Linked DNA regions of Homo sapiens: all the other regions are linked to region 4. The links are contacts of gene promoters, found by promoter capture Hi-C in blood cells and fetal thymus (Javierre and others, 2016). All regions are on one chromosome and are shown on one strand. Each heading gives the region's core, a stretch centred on a gene start or on the middle of the fragment in contact. The rest is flanking DNA. Distances are from core to core; before and after follow the strand shown. Region 1 overlaps LNX2 (ligand of numb-protein X 2). Region 2 holds the start of PAN3 (poly(A) specific ribonuclease subunit PAN3). Region 3 overlaps GTF3A (general transcription factor IIIA). Region 4 holds the start of MTMR6 (myotubularin related protein 6). Region 5 has its middle 3.1 kb from the start of MTIF3.

Region 1 (3,270 bases), core at 716-3,215, 2.3 Mb before region 4:
GCCGAGCAGCGGCGCCAGGAGCCCGTGCGCGGCCCGGGCAGCCGCGCTTTCCCAGTGAGTAACTTTGCCCTGCCCGCCTCGCTGCGCGCCCTCTCGCTGGCTGCGGGCAGCCGCCTCAGGTGCGGGCGTCAGCTGGGTGTGGGTCAGCGCCGCGCCCCGGGAGGCGGCCGGAGCGGCGCCACAGCTCGCCCCGGAGCCTTGGTCCTTCGCGGCTGTCTTCGCTCGCCCGGGCTGCGGGGCTGGCGTGGACTCGGGTGTGGGTCTGGTCCAGGAGGGAGAGTCGGCGCCCGGTGCCCGCCGCCTGCAGGCGCCCGGGAGGCGGGCGGCCTCCGGCTGTTAGCGTTTGCTGGTTCCGGCCACCGTGGTGCAGAGCTTGGCGTCGTTTGCTTCTTAAGGGAAGGGAGAGGTGGGGTGAGTGTTTAAATTTCCTCTGTGTGTGTGTGGTGTCGGCAATGAGAGTGGCACTAGCTGCCTTTATCGGGTTTTGTTCTCTGGAAAGGGATGGGGAGAGATCATTCCCTCCGCCCCAGCCTGTTGCCTGTGAATTCTCACCTTTCTCTTTAGGCTGGAGAGGGTGGGAGAGAGATTTGACATCTTCCAGGGGGTAATTTAAAAATATGAATCTTGATTTGGAAGCAGTTGCACACAAAGCATCATTCAGGAAATACATCACTCGCTTTTCAAAGCTGTATGCCACGTTTTAAACAAGGACTTTTGACTCATGTAGTGTTTCTTTTAGTATTTCAGTTTACGTTAAGTTTATGAATCCAGACGTTCGTTTGTACCAGGAGCTAAAGTACACTTATGCATGGGCTTTGCTGTGTATATTATGCTTTTTAAAATCACAGAAATCAGAAACAAAGTTGAGTGAAAAGCGGTGGCGGTGCAGGAGGAGGAACACTTGTGAGCTCCAGCTTATTGGAACTGCCTTTAAGAATTTCACATTCTTGCGGCAATAGTACTTACTTGTAAATTGGCCTTCTTCCCAGGACAGGTTTTGATATTTCTTTTGCATGTACTTCGATGCAGCACTAATGAAGTTGGATCTCAGTAGATCAATTTTATTTACTTTGCTAGATTTGATTCCCACCCCCACACCTCTTTAGAAAATGGACTTTGGCAGGTAAAGAAGGAAGCGGGAATCTGGTATCCTTTTTGGCTTGTCAAAGCTTTGTTGAGCCATGAATAACAAAGTTTTGGCTTTTTAGCTTGTCCGAGTCCCACATGTGAGTTTTCCCATGGGGTAAAAGTAGGCCAAATGAGAACCAAAGTAGAATAACATCACTTTTAATTCGGCCCACTTGTGTGTTACATTCTCCATATATCTTGTTTCTCTCATCAACTTTGAAATTTTTTCATTATTTATTCATTTAGCCACTGATAAAGTACCTACTGCATGCCAGCCATTGATGGCGGGGGTTGCTTCTTGCCCAGTTTTCTCATTTGGAAACTGATCCATGCCTTTATCCCACTAGTTACCCTGAAGTAATTTGAACTTAGGGAGCATTTCTGCCTGGAGACCTGTAAGAATAGGTGTTACGTAGGCACTTAGTCTTCAGATTGGTTTGGGATTTCGTACATTGTAGGCACGTAGCACGCAGGCCACTTAAAAATAAATGTATGTGTCTTTGGGCTGTTGTATTACGAGCTTTGCATATGGGCTTGTCTGGCCGAAGGACCCAGTGTCCGAGGTGGAGGTAGTAGTCAGGGACATGTATTATTCATTTCAGAACACTTGGCACCTTTTCTTGCTTACATTGGGCACTAAAATATTTACTGAATTGACTTGAACAGAAAAATGAAGGATTTTTTATACCAGATTAAGAAATTTGGACTTTATCCAGTCAGTGATACTGAGCTGCTAATTTTAAGCAGGAGAATGTCATGATAACGGGTAAGCATTCCAGAAAGATATCTGCAGCGTCTGGAGGATGGTGGGCTTCCAGATGGGCGATATGGAGACTAAGTTGGAGGCTGTTCTAATGGAGGGGTTAAGTGCTCAGGGATTCTCTATTCAGATTACCTGGGGTGGAATCAGGCTCTGTCATACACTGAAACCTCTTTGTTCCTTAGGTTTGTCATCTCAGAGTTTGGGGGATAGAACTTGAAAAAACATGTCTATTACTTAGAATAGTGATTGCCAGATAGTAAGGACTTAGTAAATGCTAGTGTGCTGGCAGTGGAAGGAGAAATGACGTGGTGTTTAAGAGGTATGACTAGGAGGCTGGACTAGGTAAGTGACTGGGTAGGCTTAAGGAGGGAAGGATGAATCCTGGGTTGTTTGACTTCAGGCATTGATTGACATGTACTGGGTAAGCTGGCTGTGAAATTAAAACGGGTCAAATTCTAATTCTATTACTTACCCTTAGAATAACTATCCTGACAGAACTTTGATTTCCTAACATTTGGGAAATGATTGTCGTACCTGTTGAGTAGGGTTTGAGGAATTATGCATGTAATGCCTTTGGCAGGGTACCTAGCACATTCCAAGTGCTCAGTAAATATTAGTTGTTCCTTTAGATGATGACATTAATGAGCTAGTGGAATGTTGGAGGATATGAGAAGGAGCAGTTAAAAACAATTGATGGTAGAGGTGTAGAAGGGAAGATAAGTTCAGTTTTGGACTAATCTAAGGAGGTGCTAAATGGATGGTTGAGAGATCCATGATGCAGTTGTTGGATAGTTGTGTCTCACAGGAGCTAGGAAAGAATAGAAAAGAAAAAGAGTTCACAGAAAGGCTTTATGAGTATGGTAAGCTTTATGAGAGATTTAGAGGAAGGGGAGGGTGAAGGGGTTCACAGTGGAGCGATATCAGAAGTGTTGACATTGAATATTAGGCATTTCTATCCTTAAAATATATTTTGGCCACCATCAAAGAAAGGAGGACTCCAGGCTCTTGTAATCTGGTTGGCTCTTTGGCCTTCTTCCCCTCTTCTTTCTTTCCTTTACAATTGCCACCCGATATCTTTAAATTGTATTATGAGGAACTATTTAACTTTCCTTCCTGCTTACAGGGCTAGAGTTCACAGGCCCACCTTCCTCTATCCAAATGCATCTAGGTTTTTAAAAAAGAATCACAGGTCTCATTTCATAGGTTCTCCTCTATTTAGGAAGCAGTGTTGTTTGAAAAAGTAATACATATGTATCTTGCATGTAGAATTAGAAGACTGGGGCAGGCCTACCTAAATTGACCCTGTAGGAGGGCCTGAGAGTCTTACAAAAGACATCCCTTTTAGCTTTCCTGGCACCTGTTTCTTTTCCTCAGAAAAT
Region 2 (3,104 bases), core at 115-2,614, 2.9 Mb before region 4:
GATGTCCCCACCCAAGTGCTCAGTCGCACATAAACGCAGGCTGCACATGACATGCATTCAAGACACAATGCTGAGTTTGCTTGATACAAAGCTATAGAAGACAGGATCCCAGCTGACACCAGCAAACTTATTCTAGCTTTCAGGGAAACTCAGATGAAATGCGTCTTTGTGAAATCCCTACTCTAAACTCTCGATTAAACCTGAGCACACTTTGAACGCGACAGTCCGCTCCCTCCTAATCCTTAGAAAGCATTTCCTGCCTGCAAAACCTTTCTCCCGCAAGCCTTCTACAAACTTTTTCCGTTCTTTCAACCTACTCCACGAAGCCTTAAGCCCGCCCCTCACCTCCCGCCCCCTACACACACACACACACACACACACACACACACACACAAACACACCCCTCCCCACTAGGGAACCTCAACACTCTGCAGACGCCACTCCACAAGGACACGCAAAACACATGTGCCTGCAAACCCAGCCCCTTTCCACACCCCCCGGAAACGACACCCCCTTTCTCACACTCCGCACGCCACAGCCCATCCCCCTTCCTCCCCGCCCCCCCTTCACATCACCCCAGTCCTCCCACCCACGTTCCCGGGAACCCAACCTCCCCGCGCTCTCCGACTTGCCGAAGGCAGTGGGGAGGGGAAGCAGGAAGAAGGAAGGAGGGCTCAGGCCCGGCCTAGGCCTCTCAGACCGCCTTGGGAGGTGAGGGGGGGAGCCCGCGGGCCGTGCTCAGCTCCCGTCGGCAGCAGGGCCTCATCCGGCCCAGGCCTGCCCTCCGCCGCCGCGGCCCGCCCCGCCCGAAAAACACTCACTTGCCAGCCGCGGTCCATCGAGTCCCCCGCTACTGCCTCCTCCGCCGGCTGCGGCTCCGGTCCCCGGGTCCCCCAGGTCCGGCTTCTTGGGCCCGGGGGGCGGCCCAGCTCCCCCGCCCGCGACGGCTCCCGGCGGAAAGCCGGCCACGGGTGCACCAGCCAGAGCCAGGGGGACGCTGTTGCTATGGAGGCCGAGGCCCGGGGCAGCCCCGGCGGCAGGGTCCTCATGCAGGAACTGACACTCCTCCCCGTAGAAGCAAGTCTTATCCTTAGCGTAGTAGCGGCAGTACTTCAGCTTCACTCCTACCGCCGCCCCGCCGGGGACACCCCCGACCCCCGGCGGGGCCACCACCGCCACCGCCGCCGCCAGCGAGGAGGAGGAAGGGGAGGCGGCGGCCGAGGGGGGCGGGAGGCCGCCGCCACTGTTCATGGCAACGCCGCAGCCTCGTCTTCCGCCGCCGCCCGAGGAGCCGCCGCCGCCACCACCATAGACGGGGGAGGAAAGGAAGACGCTGCCGGTGCCGGATAAAAGCCTGGGCGGGTGGGTCTGTCCCGCTGCGGGAGCCGGAGCCGCCCGGGGAGAAGGGGGAGGGGAGAGGGGAGGGAGGAGGGGGTAGAAGGAGGGAGGGTAGGGGGAGAGTTGGGATTCTCTCACTCACTCTCTCGTTCTCTTTTCTTAAAGGGGCCGCGCGGGACGACGGGGTGAGCGCGCGGGCCCAGACGGGGACTTCGAGGGCGCGGGCAGGGGAAGAGGGAGCGGCAGCGGCAAGCGGGTGGGGAAGGCGGAGGGGCCGGTTTATTTTTAAATTCTGCCTCCACTCGCTCTCTCGCGCTCTGGTTCCTCCGAGTTGTTTATTCCATTTTCCTCTTCCTGAGACGGCCGTCGCCGCTGCGCGTGCGCGCTGAGACGCGAGGGCTTATGGGTAGCGGGAGCGCTAGGGGAAGCCTGGCCGGCGTCGGGCCCCCGGGGGCATCCGCGAGCTATCGGCGGTTGGACCGGCGGCTCTCGGTGGGGTTCCGGACGCGGATCTGGCGCCGAATTCTCACGAGACCTGATACCTTCCTTATTTGTATATTCTCTTACTTAAAAAGCCAGATGTCTTTTTTTTTTTTTTCATTGAAAAGAGAAAATTGACAAGGTAAACGGTCGTTTGGAGGGGCCACCTGGGGACGCGGCCCGAGCCCTGGCTCTACCTGAAGAATATCTTCTATTTGCCACACTTCCTCTCCCCGTTTCCTTTCTTCGCCCCTCTCCTCTTTCCCCTTCCCCTCGAAGGTAATGAGAACTACTGGACCGATTACGCTAACCTCTTGGCCCTTTGTCAAAAAATGGAGCCAAAAAGGTTGATTTAGACAGACCCCCTGCTCAGTGCAGCACCTGTTATTCTCTGTATTTATATTACCAAGGGCCTTCGGTAAATTATGAAAAATAGGATGCCACCTGGGACAACACTGCTTAGACAGCACTGGAAGACCTTTATAAATATACTAGGTTGCTTTTCTCCAATCAGCCTAGCCTTGATTTGAAATTCATTTTTATTTTTTTTGAGACGGTGAAATTCATTTTTAAAAGATAGTTTTAACCTCAGCGATCTCTGATGTTTGCGCTAATACCCTTTTAAAGGCTTTCAGAAATTTTAAAGAATTGCTATGAAAGGAAAAGTAACATTCTAGTTTTTCTCTGTAAAAGAGGTTCACAAACGGCAGATCGCTGTTATGAAAAGGAGGGGTGGAAGTATTTAAGGAATTGTGGCAAACAAAGTCACAGAAGAATGGATATAAGCAAAAGTAGCACACTGAAAAAAATGGGGAAAAGTGGAGTCTAGATCACAAACTGGTAAGCTTGGTGATGTTCTCTAGCCAAATTCGAAGGTAATAACATTGTATTATGGCTTTCTGTTTAAAAGCAGTTTCGCTTATTTGATTATTCAACAAATCTTTATTAACACGCATTACGTGTACCAGAAACTGTGGTACACTTAACTGTGGAGCTGGGGAAGCAAAAGTGAACATGCCGCCTTAAGTGAGTTCAGATGGCTTATCTTCCGGTTGGGGAGGCATCAAGTACACAGGTCCGTTGTAAACCAGTGTCTTAAGTGCTAACCTTATCACATTTGCTATTAGAGGATATTAAACATGTCAGACTTCTTGGAGAAAGTTGATATTTTCATGTTCCAAGTTTGGGAACATCATTGAATTCAGACAGATCTGGATTGAAACAGATTAAAGTGCCTACACTTTAATAGCTGTGTTCCTCTCAGTTAATTGCTTCATTTCTCTGTG
Region 3 (2,995 bases), core at 496-2,995, 2.1 Mb before region 4:
TGCCTACCCAACACCCACTACTCACCCCTCCCCCTACCCCCTAGCTTTTTTACACACATAAAAGTAGCCTAAAGAGGACTCTTCTGCACCTTGGTTTTTCAATTAAAGTGCCCTGGTGATTTTCTCATGGCTTTGCAGAGAGCATCTGCATTCATTTTCCTGGCTGTAGGGTATCCCATTGTGTTGATATACTTTAGCTTGTCCCCACCCATGAGCATTTTATGTTAGCTCAGCCTCCTGGGTAGCTAGGATTACAGGCACAAACCACCATCCCTGACTAATTTTTGTATTTTTGTACATACGGGGTTTCACCATGTTGCCCAGGTTTGTCTCAAACTCCTGGGTTCAAGTGATCTGCCCATCTCCGCCTCCCAAAGTGCTGGGATTACAGGCATGAGCCACCGAGCCCTGCCAGGCTTCACATTCCTGATCTCGTGAGTTAACATCAATCTTCTTACTGGGTCTATATGCCCAACACAACCCACTTCAAAAGCCTAAAAACAGGTCTCTACTTACACAAACGGCTTTTCTCCTGTGTGAGTCAGAATGTGGCGGCTCAGATGGTAGTCCCTGATGAAGGCCTTGCCACACCCTTCATAGTCACAAACAAATGGTCTCTAGCAGGAAAAAAGAAAAAGCATGTCACTTCTGCACTAGTTAGTAACTCTGGTATTATTTAAAAGCTTAAACTGCCTAGTGTTAAGGCCACAGGCTTCCTATGAAGAGGTGGTTTCTACTCAGAGCTGTGCACCCACTGCAAGACGCAGTGTTCCTGCACAAAGTTACACAACATAAACATCACAACTTCTCACAAAGTCACTACACAGATTTTTGTTCCATGAACAGCATTTAAAATAAGCAGGCATAGCATTTTTAACCTGCTCCCAACCCGGCAGCAGGCTTTCACAGCAACCCCCTCTTAAAGACGCCCTGGCTGTTAGCATGGCTTGTCTGCATGGATCCCCACCACCGCATGATTTAACATGTAAAAAAGCAAGCCTAGGGCAGAGGAACGAGGGAGGCCTGTCTCATCCCAGACAAGCCCAGGGTCTGTGCTAGGATAATGCCAAGCACAGCTATAGGAAAGTGTGTCACACCTGAAAAAGCTCACAGGTGCCAGGGCGAAGCAAAGAAAACAGCTCAACACCCTAAATGCAACCACCTTTTGTAACCCAGGAGTTGGGAGGGGGTGACTCATTTTGAACCTATAGTAAAAGCCAAACACACACCCCAAATAACCAAATAACCAGTTTGGTGCATCAAACTATGAAAAGCATACTACCAAGGCGTCCAGGAGGGAGGCACCGAGGCCTCCATGAGAGTACTAGGAGCAAAACAAGCAAACAGGAACACAGTGAGCTACATACCACCAGGGGCGGAGCCACAGAACCTTGCACAGCGGCAGGCGTGGAGTAGGCTCAATAAACATTTGTCAAATTAATCTGCATGAGAGATCTGGGACAACAAAGATGACTCCAAGTTTTTCAACCTGTATTAAGGAAACTGGTAGCGCCAGTATCCAAAATACAGCACACCGGTCTAAAAGGAAAGGCAAGCTCTTACGTGGATCTACTGGTAATACAGAGCCCAGAATTTAGAGGCTAGAACGGGCAAGAGGAAGGGCAGAGGGGCAAAGCATAAAGGATGTTATGAGTCATGCCGGTGGCTATGTAAGACCGCAAGAGGGAGCTGGGCGGGGTGGAACATGCAGAGGGCAGAAGAGGATCCAACGAAAAGGGCAGACGAGGAAGAGGAAAAGAACCAGAGAAGGTCTCAAGGAAGAAGCGGTCGGCCTTCCAGTGCTGGAGAGGTTAAGGAATGAGGCCCCGGAGGACACCTGGAGAAGGTGGCCCATAAATTAGAGGAGGTGCAAGGGGCAAAGGTATGGACTGCAGCCCAGTGGTTTAAGAAATTAAGGGCTTTAAGCTGAGGCAGTGTGAAGCCTAGCTCTGCCAAAAACTGGGAAGCTGGGCAGATTCCTTGACCTCCATGACCCTCGTTTTCCTCACTTGTGTGTGACATGGGCTGCCACGTCATATCATGGTATCTGACATTCTCCTGCCCTCAAAATAAAATCCAAACTCCTAATGGGCCTACTTCTCAGACCTCATATGGTGATCTCCGCACCCAAACACACCCACCTGCCTCCCACCCCAAGGGTCACAGGCTCCCTTTGTGTTCTCTCTACCTAGCACAAATGTCTGCATGGCTAGATCCTTCCTTCTTACACGGCTCACACAGAGAGGCCTTTCCTGACCACAACACTGCATGTCATTCCCACCTATCCTGTGGTCGGCTCGACCCAGGAACAAAGGTCCATGGCAGCAGAAACCTTGGGTTTGCCTGTTTTGCTCACTGCTCTCTCCAGTGTGGAGTTACGAAGAAATGAGCACATGCTGCTTTCACGACCCCTGGTACATGTAACCCATCTTCTGTACCAGCTCCAGGGGCCAGTGTTTGGCAGGTGTCTAGTAGCGGTGGGCCCCCTCAAACCTCACACTTATTTGCAGATTACGGGAGGCACTTGGCTGGCCGAGACTCACGATCAATGACTGCTTAGTAAATCCCGAGCCCCTGCCATGGATATCAAGGTCGCAGAACGAAGGTCCTACAACTTCCTGTCTACTTCCTCAGCTCCTTCCCCAAGTCCTGGATGTCAAAGCTGAACGCGCTGCACAGCGGGGCCTGCGGCCCTGGCCACGACTGCAGTGGCTACCCCGGGGCCACGCGCCATCCCTAGGCCCAGGGTTGGCAGCCTCGCCCCCCTCACCTCCCCCGTGTGCTTGCACAGGTGCGCGTCAAGCTTCCAGGCTTTGCTGTAATTGGCGCTGCAGTCAGGGAAGGAGCAGATGAACCTCCTGGGAAGCGCGGGGCGCGGCGGGGTCGGAGCTGAGCTCTCGCCGGCTGCAATGAACGCGTCGGCGATGGTCAAGGACGACACCGACTCGGCGACCACGGCCGGCGGATCCAGGGCGCCGGCGCCTCCAAGCCCAGG
Region 4 (3,088 bases), core at 587-3,086:
TTATCTGCTATGTGATATTGGGCAAGTTACTTCACTTCATTGTGTCTCGCTTGTCTCATCTCTAAAATAAAGAAAGCAATAGCATTTTCCTCAGAATACCCGTAAAGCACTCAGTACATTTGGTCACCTGACATCATTATGATTGCCTCTCTGTGAGAATTGGTAAAGAGAGGACACAGGAAGTGAGGAGATGAGAAGAGGGAGGATAATCTGTAGGGGAATGGGGAAGGAGGAAGTTGTAAATTGGGAGGAAAATGATATAAAAAGTTTTGTTAAGAAAGTCTTGCTGTATGCTATACAATTCACCTCTTTCTGTTTTCTCAAAAAGCAATCCTCAGTAAAGACCTACATTACTTTTCTCTCTCTCTATATATATATATATGTGTATATATATATATATGTATATATATATATATATATATGTGTATATATATATATATATATATTTTTTTTTTTTTCTGAGCAGGATTTGTGGGGTTTTTTTTCGGGGGGAGGGGGTGGATGTGATACTGTACTAAGGTTGGTTTCTAGGTGGTTTAATGTAACTCTTATTACATATTTAGCTTAGAGGAGTCAGCAACTCCACCGCAAAGGCTGTTGTGTTTAATAACCATCTCCATTGCTTTGGCAATCTGTCTGAAACATCGTAGGCACTCAAAACAAAACAAACCAAGACAACTTGAACAAAATGAAACAAATAAGTGAAACAAAATTTTTAATTATAAAAGAAAATTTAGATGTTAGGCTTTTCTAACACCAATCACAGTATGAAAGATGAAGATTACAAACCTTAACCGGCTTAGTACAGAATACTTACAAAACGTAGAGCAGAGTTTCTCGGACTCTAACTCCTGACCTCAAGTGATCCGCCCGCCTCAGCCTCCCAAAGTTCTGGGATTACAGGCGTGAACCACCGCGCCTGGCATAGAGCAGGGTTTCTCAACCTCTGCACTGTTGTCATCTGCCGGATAATTCCCTGTAGTTGGGGGGTTGGTCTGGTGCCTAGTAGGGTGTTCAGCAGCCGACTTGTGACTTGGCCTCCACCCACCAGTTGCCCCCCGCCGCCACCCCCCCACCACCACCATTTGAGACAACCAAAAATATCTCCAGATGTTACCAAATGTCCCCCGGGGAGAAAACTCACTCCAGGCTGAGAAGTACCACATTAGACGTGTTCTAACAAAAATTACCTGTAACCCTCACCTAGAAATGTAAACTTTTTGTTTACATAAATAAAAATTACAGAGCACGGCTACATTGAACTTATTGTTCCATAGTCAGTTTTTTCTTCACTCAGTAATGCAGCATTAACATTTTCGTTATGTGATATCCCTCTACAGGATGAGTTTTAATGGATGCTGGTGCTAACATCGTATGAAATTGAGGTAGGAGGCGGGACTCTGACACCAGACCAGATTGAGGACTAGCTAATCATCATACTTTACATAAGGAATCCGTAGGATTGGAGAGTTGATTGTTTCAAATAAGGCTGGTTTCCTTATTTGGTTATTTCCTTAGAATAATAACTCCAAATCTGATTATTTCCTTAGAATACATTCTTATGAGTAGAACTGCAGCTCAAACTAAATTTGGTGCTGTCCAGTGGTATGGCGATGGACTTCAGAACATCCTCCACTCTTGCCCTCACCCCACAAGAACCCTTTACTCGGGATCCATTCTCACGCAGTCTTCCTCCCCGACCGCCCCGCGCGTCCGCTCGGCGGGATGACAAAGACCGCCTCGGGTGGGGTGGTGAGCAGTACCGGCCTCCTCCAGCAGGGGGCGCTGTGGGATCCGCCGCTGTCCGGGACGAACCAGCAAGCCGCTCTCGGTCCACACACGCTCTGTCTGCCTGCCCCGAGTCCCCCGGGAGGCCGCGGGGTTTGGGGAAGTGTTTCTAGGAGACGGCGCTCACCGGCTGCACCTGCGCCGTTGACGCCACCGGGGCCGGCAGACAGACCCGCGGCGCTGGCTGGTGGAGGGAGTTCCCGCTTGCTCTCTGTCGCTGTCACCGCCCTGTTTCTGTAGCCGTATGGTACGCCTGTGAGACCGGCTGCCGGCTGACGTCTCCTTGCGATGGAGCATATCCGGACGACCAAGGTAGTCGGGCGCGGGATCGCCAGTCTTCAGGGGCCCTGCTCTGACCCGGCTGAGGCAGGAGGAGACGAAGGCTCTGCTGGCCTGACTGGGGCTGGGAGCCGGCCCGGCGGAGACCCGGCCCGGGGCGGGAGGGTCTGGCCAGGCCTGGTCTGGGAGGGCAGGGTTAGCTTGGGCCAAGCGGGGTGCAGAGGCCTCCTGTACCTACAGGAGCAGGGGTCCCACTTTCAGCATCTTGGAGTGCGTAGAGATAAGTCTGGGAAAACTGGTCACCGCCCTCCTAGCTCTACGTTTTCTCGGGCAAAATTGGGGCTCCTTTAACTTTGGAGTCTTTCAGCCTTTCGTTGCCTCATCAACCGGAAAACCGTCTTCAAATTAACATTATGATGCTGTGTAAGCTTGTCCTTGCTCACATTTCATTGTCCCGTGTCACAGATTCACAGTACGAGTTTTGGAGGAACCGAGATCAGCACTCCGCTCCACCTCCCTTTGCTGTCTCGGTCTCCAGTCTTTCGCATCCGGTGTTTCCGTGTCTGTGCTTCATACTTCAGGCATTGTCCTGTGTCAGTAGTCAAGAGTTCTGGAGAAGGGAAAAATGTTATTCCATATTTTAAAAGGTCGGATGCAGCTTTATTCGATTGACCTTATTGCACTCCATGCTTAATTTTTGTGTGTGGAAGACCTTCATTTTGAGAACGAACAAATATTTTTATTTCGTTACAAATTTAAAAACGGAAGGAAATGACATCAGAATGTTACCAAATTACGTTTCCAACGACATTTAAGTTTAACTTTGAGAGGGAGAAAAACATAAATCGAGACGAGAAGAATAACATTTTAAAATCACTGCGAGCCCACTGCAAGGCAGCCTCTTGACGTTTTGGCAAAGCTGAAGCCCTTTAGTTGCTGCCCATCTTAAAATTACGGCTCATTTAGGGAACCACAGATGTTCGTTATCTTCATTGTTCCAAGAAGAATTTGTGTTTTTAAA
Region 5 (3,287 bases), core at 749-3,248, 2.2 Mb before region 4:
CTTTCAAAAATGGAATAATTTGCCTTTAATTCCATTTGCCTCAAAGATGGGAAACTGTGAGAGCACAAATTTATTTTATCACAAACATTCTATTTGCTGTCAGTCCTCCCCTCCTTAAACAGCCTTGTAACTACGTCTCACATAGGTGTTTAAAAATAGTATAGGGTTGCATTCTTTTTTTTTTTTGTTTTGAGATGGAGTCTCCCTCTGTCATCCAGGCTGGAGTGCAGTGGCGCAATCTTGGCTCACTGCAACCTCCGCCTCCCTGGTTCAAGGGATTCTCCTGCCTCCGCCTCTCAAGTAGCTGGGACTACAGGCACACACCACCATGCCCAGCTAATCTTTTTTCTTTTTTTTTTTTTTTTTTGTATTTTTAGTAGAGATGGGGTTTCGTCATGTTGGCCACGCTGGTCTTGAACTCCTGACCTCATGATCTGCTTGCCTCGGTCTCCCAAAGTCCTGGGGTTACAGGCATGAGACACTGTGCCCGGCTGGGTTGCATTCTAAATGTAAAATGCTAACTAATCATTTGGTACTGTTTTGCTTTATCTACACAACAGTCAGCATGGTACACTTTGTACTAGCTCTTTGTTGTTCTGCATGATGTCCTATGATGGTAATAGAAATTATTTTCATTGTTTCAAAACGATCAAAGTTAACTGAATCACCTCAAAACTCAACACCTCTGAAATGGAAAGACATGTCTCTGTTGTGTTCCAAATGAAACTTCTGAACCTATTTTCTGCTTCTGCAGTTGCACAAGAGACTTTTCACAGAAGTGGATCTTCCATATACAAATATTTTTATTTGGCAGATATGAAAGTTTTTAAAACTTTATTACAATATGTCATTCATTTTAGACATTTTGCTGATTCACAACCACCACGTTTTAATAACTGAGGCCATCATATTCTGACAAGAGAAATGATTAATCTGGAGTCTAATGTTATGGGAAATCTCACTCATGGTAAGGAAATTTATTTTGAATCTAGCAAATAGTTTGAGAGCACACAAAGGGTTATAACACAGATGTGGTCACCAGATGTTCTCCAGCTCTACTGCAGAACCAGACTAAGTAGCAACATGATGGATTTAGGTTATGTAAAGGAAAAGACTCCCGTCTTATAAAACATTGAAATGAGAAGCTAAATCTCCTGGCCTCGAGTTTTGTTTTGGCTTGTTTTAAATATAGAGATGTTTTACATGTTTGGAATGGATTAATTATAGTCCTGCCTGAGGAAAATGGTAGAGATTTCATAAGAAGGCTTTCGGCTTTAATAGTTTCTAACAGACAATAATAGACACACAATATTGGGCTGACAGTATCTTCAGGAAGCTTTGAACGAGTTACCTAACACTCAGCCAAAGCCTCTTGCATGCCTTGTTTCTATGACTCTTGACAAGTCTGTAAACATCAACTAAGGAGAGCATGGACCCTTTTGGCTATTAAACTGGCCTTGTAATGACAGAGTTGCTGCTGTTTAAGATAACTGCTCTCAGCTACATTTAGTTGGCACTACATAGGATCTCACACATAATAGACTTAAATTCCCCCAATTTTAGCAAAACTGCCCAGGTAAGAGTTTATAATCTGGAGAGGGAGGAGTATCTAATCTATGAACAATTATTTGTTAAAGAATATGCTGAATATCTGAACCCACATGGGCTTTAAAGTTTGAAGATGCTTCGTATCTTCAAAATAAACCCAAGATTTTGACTGGGCATGGTGGCTCATGCCTGTAATCCCAGCACTTTTTGGGGCCGAGGCAGGTGGATTACCTGAGGTCAGGAGTTCGAGACCAGCCTGGCCAACATGGTGAAATCCCGTCTGTACTAAAAATATAAAAACTAGCCAGGCGTGGTAGTGGGTGCCTATAATCCCAGCTACTTGGGAGGCTGAGGCAGGAGAACTGCTTGAATCCAGGAGGCGGAGGTTGCAGAGCCGACACGGTGCCACTGCACTCCAGCCTCGGCAGCAGAGTGAGACTCCGTCTCAAAAAACAAACAAACAAAACAAAAAAACAACCACCACCAGGATTTTTATTAGTATTAGATTTTTAAATGAATTGTTAGTCATTGTGGCATTATAAAGACGCAGCCCAGTGTTCATAACTTTTTAAAGAAATCACCCACAGACTGATTCTTTTGTGGATCAGATATGTTGTACCTCAATGACCTTGGGCTAAGCAAGTAAATCTCACATACAATCCTGTTTTGGAAGGTCCCCTCGGCGTTGGGGAAAAGTGGGAGGACTTGGAAAGCTAACAGGCAAAGAGAGGGACGGGATATTTCCATTATTCCTTCATCAGAGCAAATCACCAATATATTCATTGAAAGAGAAAGTTCATGGGCATGCTATGGAAATTAACGTAGAAATTACTATGTAATAGAAAATATAGGCATTTTTAGAGTCACCATGATTTGAGTCTTATTGAGTTACATTTTTTGAGGGGGTTAAATTATATGTAGAAACGATAACAATTGGGAAAGCTCTACACATGTCTCAGAGTCCTCTTCTATGTACATAACGGAGTAGTTTATTAAAGATCTGTGGCATAGTAATAGCATTTCCCCAAACCTCTTCATCTTTATTCAAGGATCTTCAAAGTCTGCCCCCACCAAGCACAGCTCAAGGCTCTCAATGACTCTTTAAAAGCTTCCAAGTGGCCGGGCGTGGTGGCTCACACCCGTAATCCTACCACTTTGGGAGGCCGAGTGGGGTGGATCACCTGAGGTCAGGAGTTCGAGATCAGACTGGCCAATATGGTGAAACCCCGTCTCTACTAAAAATACAAAAATTAGCCCGACCCAGTGGCACGCGCCTATAATCCCAGCTACTCGGGAGGCTGAGGCAGGAGAATCGCTTGAACCCGCGAGGTGGAGGTTGCAGTGAGCCGAGATCGCGCCACTGCACTCCAGCCTGGGCGACACAGAGAGACTCCATCTCCAAAAACAAAACAAAACAAAACAAAACAAAAAAACAAAAAACCCCACAAAAGCTGCCAAGCTCCATTTCGGCTGGAGGTCAAAGAAGAGTTCAAGGGAAAAGATGAAAAAAATGGCTTCTCTCCATCTGTGGGCATGTCTGTAATTGCCACCCCATCTCTGCATGTCTCCTCCCAGGAACACTAAAGCACCATCTTCTAGGCGTGGAGACATCTGACAATGGAAGTCTAGAAAGCTTCCTAAACCACCTGCTCTGGACACAGCTGCCTTCAAAGACGGACTGCAAATGGATGCTGGCCGGTAGCTTCAGTTACCAGTGATTACTTGGTGTGAATCTACCT

What was found. The method cuts DNA at HindIII sites, captures the fragments that hold promoters and counts their contacts. A CHiCAGO score of 5 or more calls a contact.
Region 1: a fragment that was not itself captured here is called in contact with the fragment with the promoter of MTMR6 in region 4 in 1 of 17 cell types (non-activated CD4 T cells); the score reaches 5.2 in non-activated CD4 T cells.
Region 2: the fragment with the promoter of PAN3 here is called in contact with the fragment with the promoter of MTMR6 in region 4 in 2 of 17 cell types (fetal thymus and naive CD4 T cells); the score reaches 5.5 in fetal thymus.
Region 3: a contact is called between a fragment that was not itself captured here and the fragment with the promoter of MTMR6 in region 4, in 1 of 17 cell types (fetal thymus). The highest score is 5.3, in fetal thymus.
Region 5: a contact is called between a fragment that was not itself captured here and the fragment with the promoter of MTMR6 in region 4, in 1 of 17 cell types (fetal thymus). The highest score is 5.1, in fetal thymus.

Annotation. Positions count from the first base shown.
Region 1 is chr13:27,617,159-27,620,428 of GRCh38, reverse strand. LNX2 (ligand of numb-protein X 2) reads left to right here. Exons shown (of 10, transcript NM_153371.4): 1 at 1-54. Among named protein-coding and RNA genes, the nearest start is that of LNX2, 1.7 kb to the left of the region's middle. RefSeq lists a silencer at 1-350. The HindIII fragment of the contact is 1,587 bases long and covers 1,172-2,758 here.
Region 2 is chr13:28,136,805-28,139,908 of GRCh38, reverse strand. PAN3 (poly(A) specific ribonuclease subunit PAN3) reads right to left here and starts at 1,364. Exons shown (of 19, transcript NM_175854.8): 1 at 822-1,364. The coding sequence starts at 1,251. It overlaps PAN3-AS1 (PAN3 antisense RNA 1), which reads left to right and starts at 735. Exons shown (of 2, transcript NR_029383.1): 1 at 735-1,362; 2 at 1,504-3,066. RefSeq lists an enhancer at 323-617 and silencers at 700-1,099, 1,140-1,219, 1,410-1,519. The HindIII fragment of the contact is 2,991 bases long and covers 1-2,665 here.
Region 3 is chr13:27,424,714-27,427,708 of GRCh38, reverse strand. GTF3A (general transcription factor IIIA) reads right to left here. Exons shown (of 9, transcript NM_002097.3): 1 at 2,771-2,995; 2 at 517-617. The coding sequence starts at 2,971. Among named protein-coding and RNA genes, the nearest start is that of GTF3A, 1.6 kb to the right of the region's middle. RefSeq lists enhancers at 1,416-1,635, 2,586-2,655 and silencers at 2,746-2,825, 2,926-2,985. The HindIII fragment of the contact is 2,120 bases long and covers 686-2,805 here.
Region 4 is chr13:25,286,236-25,289,323 of GRCh38, reverse strand. MTMR6 (myotubularin related protein 6) reads left to right here and starts at 1,836. Exons shown (of 14, transcript NM_004685.5): 1 at 1,836-2,100. The coding sequence starts at 2,077. RefSeq lists enhancers at 1,523-1,692, 1,793-2,132, 1,836-2,456. The HindIII fragment of the contact is 4,901 bases long and covers 1-2,497 here.
Region 5 is chr13:27,452,047-27,455,333 of GRCh38, reverse strand. No RefSeq gene overlaps it. Among named protein-coding and RNA genes, the nearest start is that of MTIF3, 3.1 kb to the right of the region's middle. The HindIII fragment of the contact is 1,320 bases long and covers 1,339-2,658 here.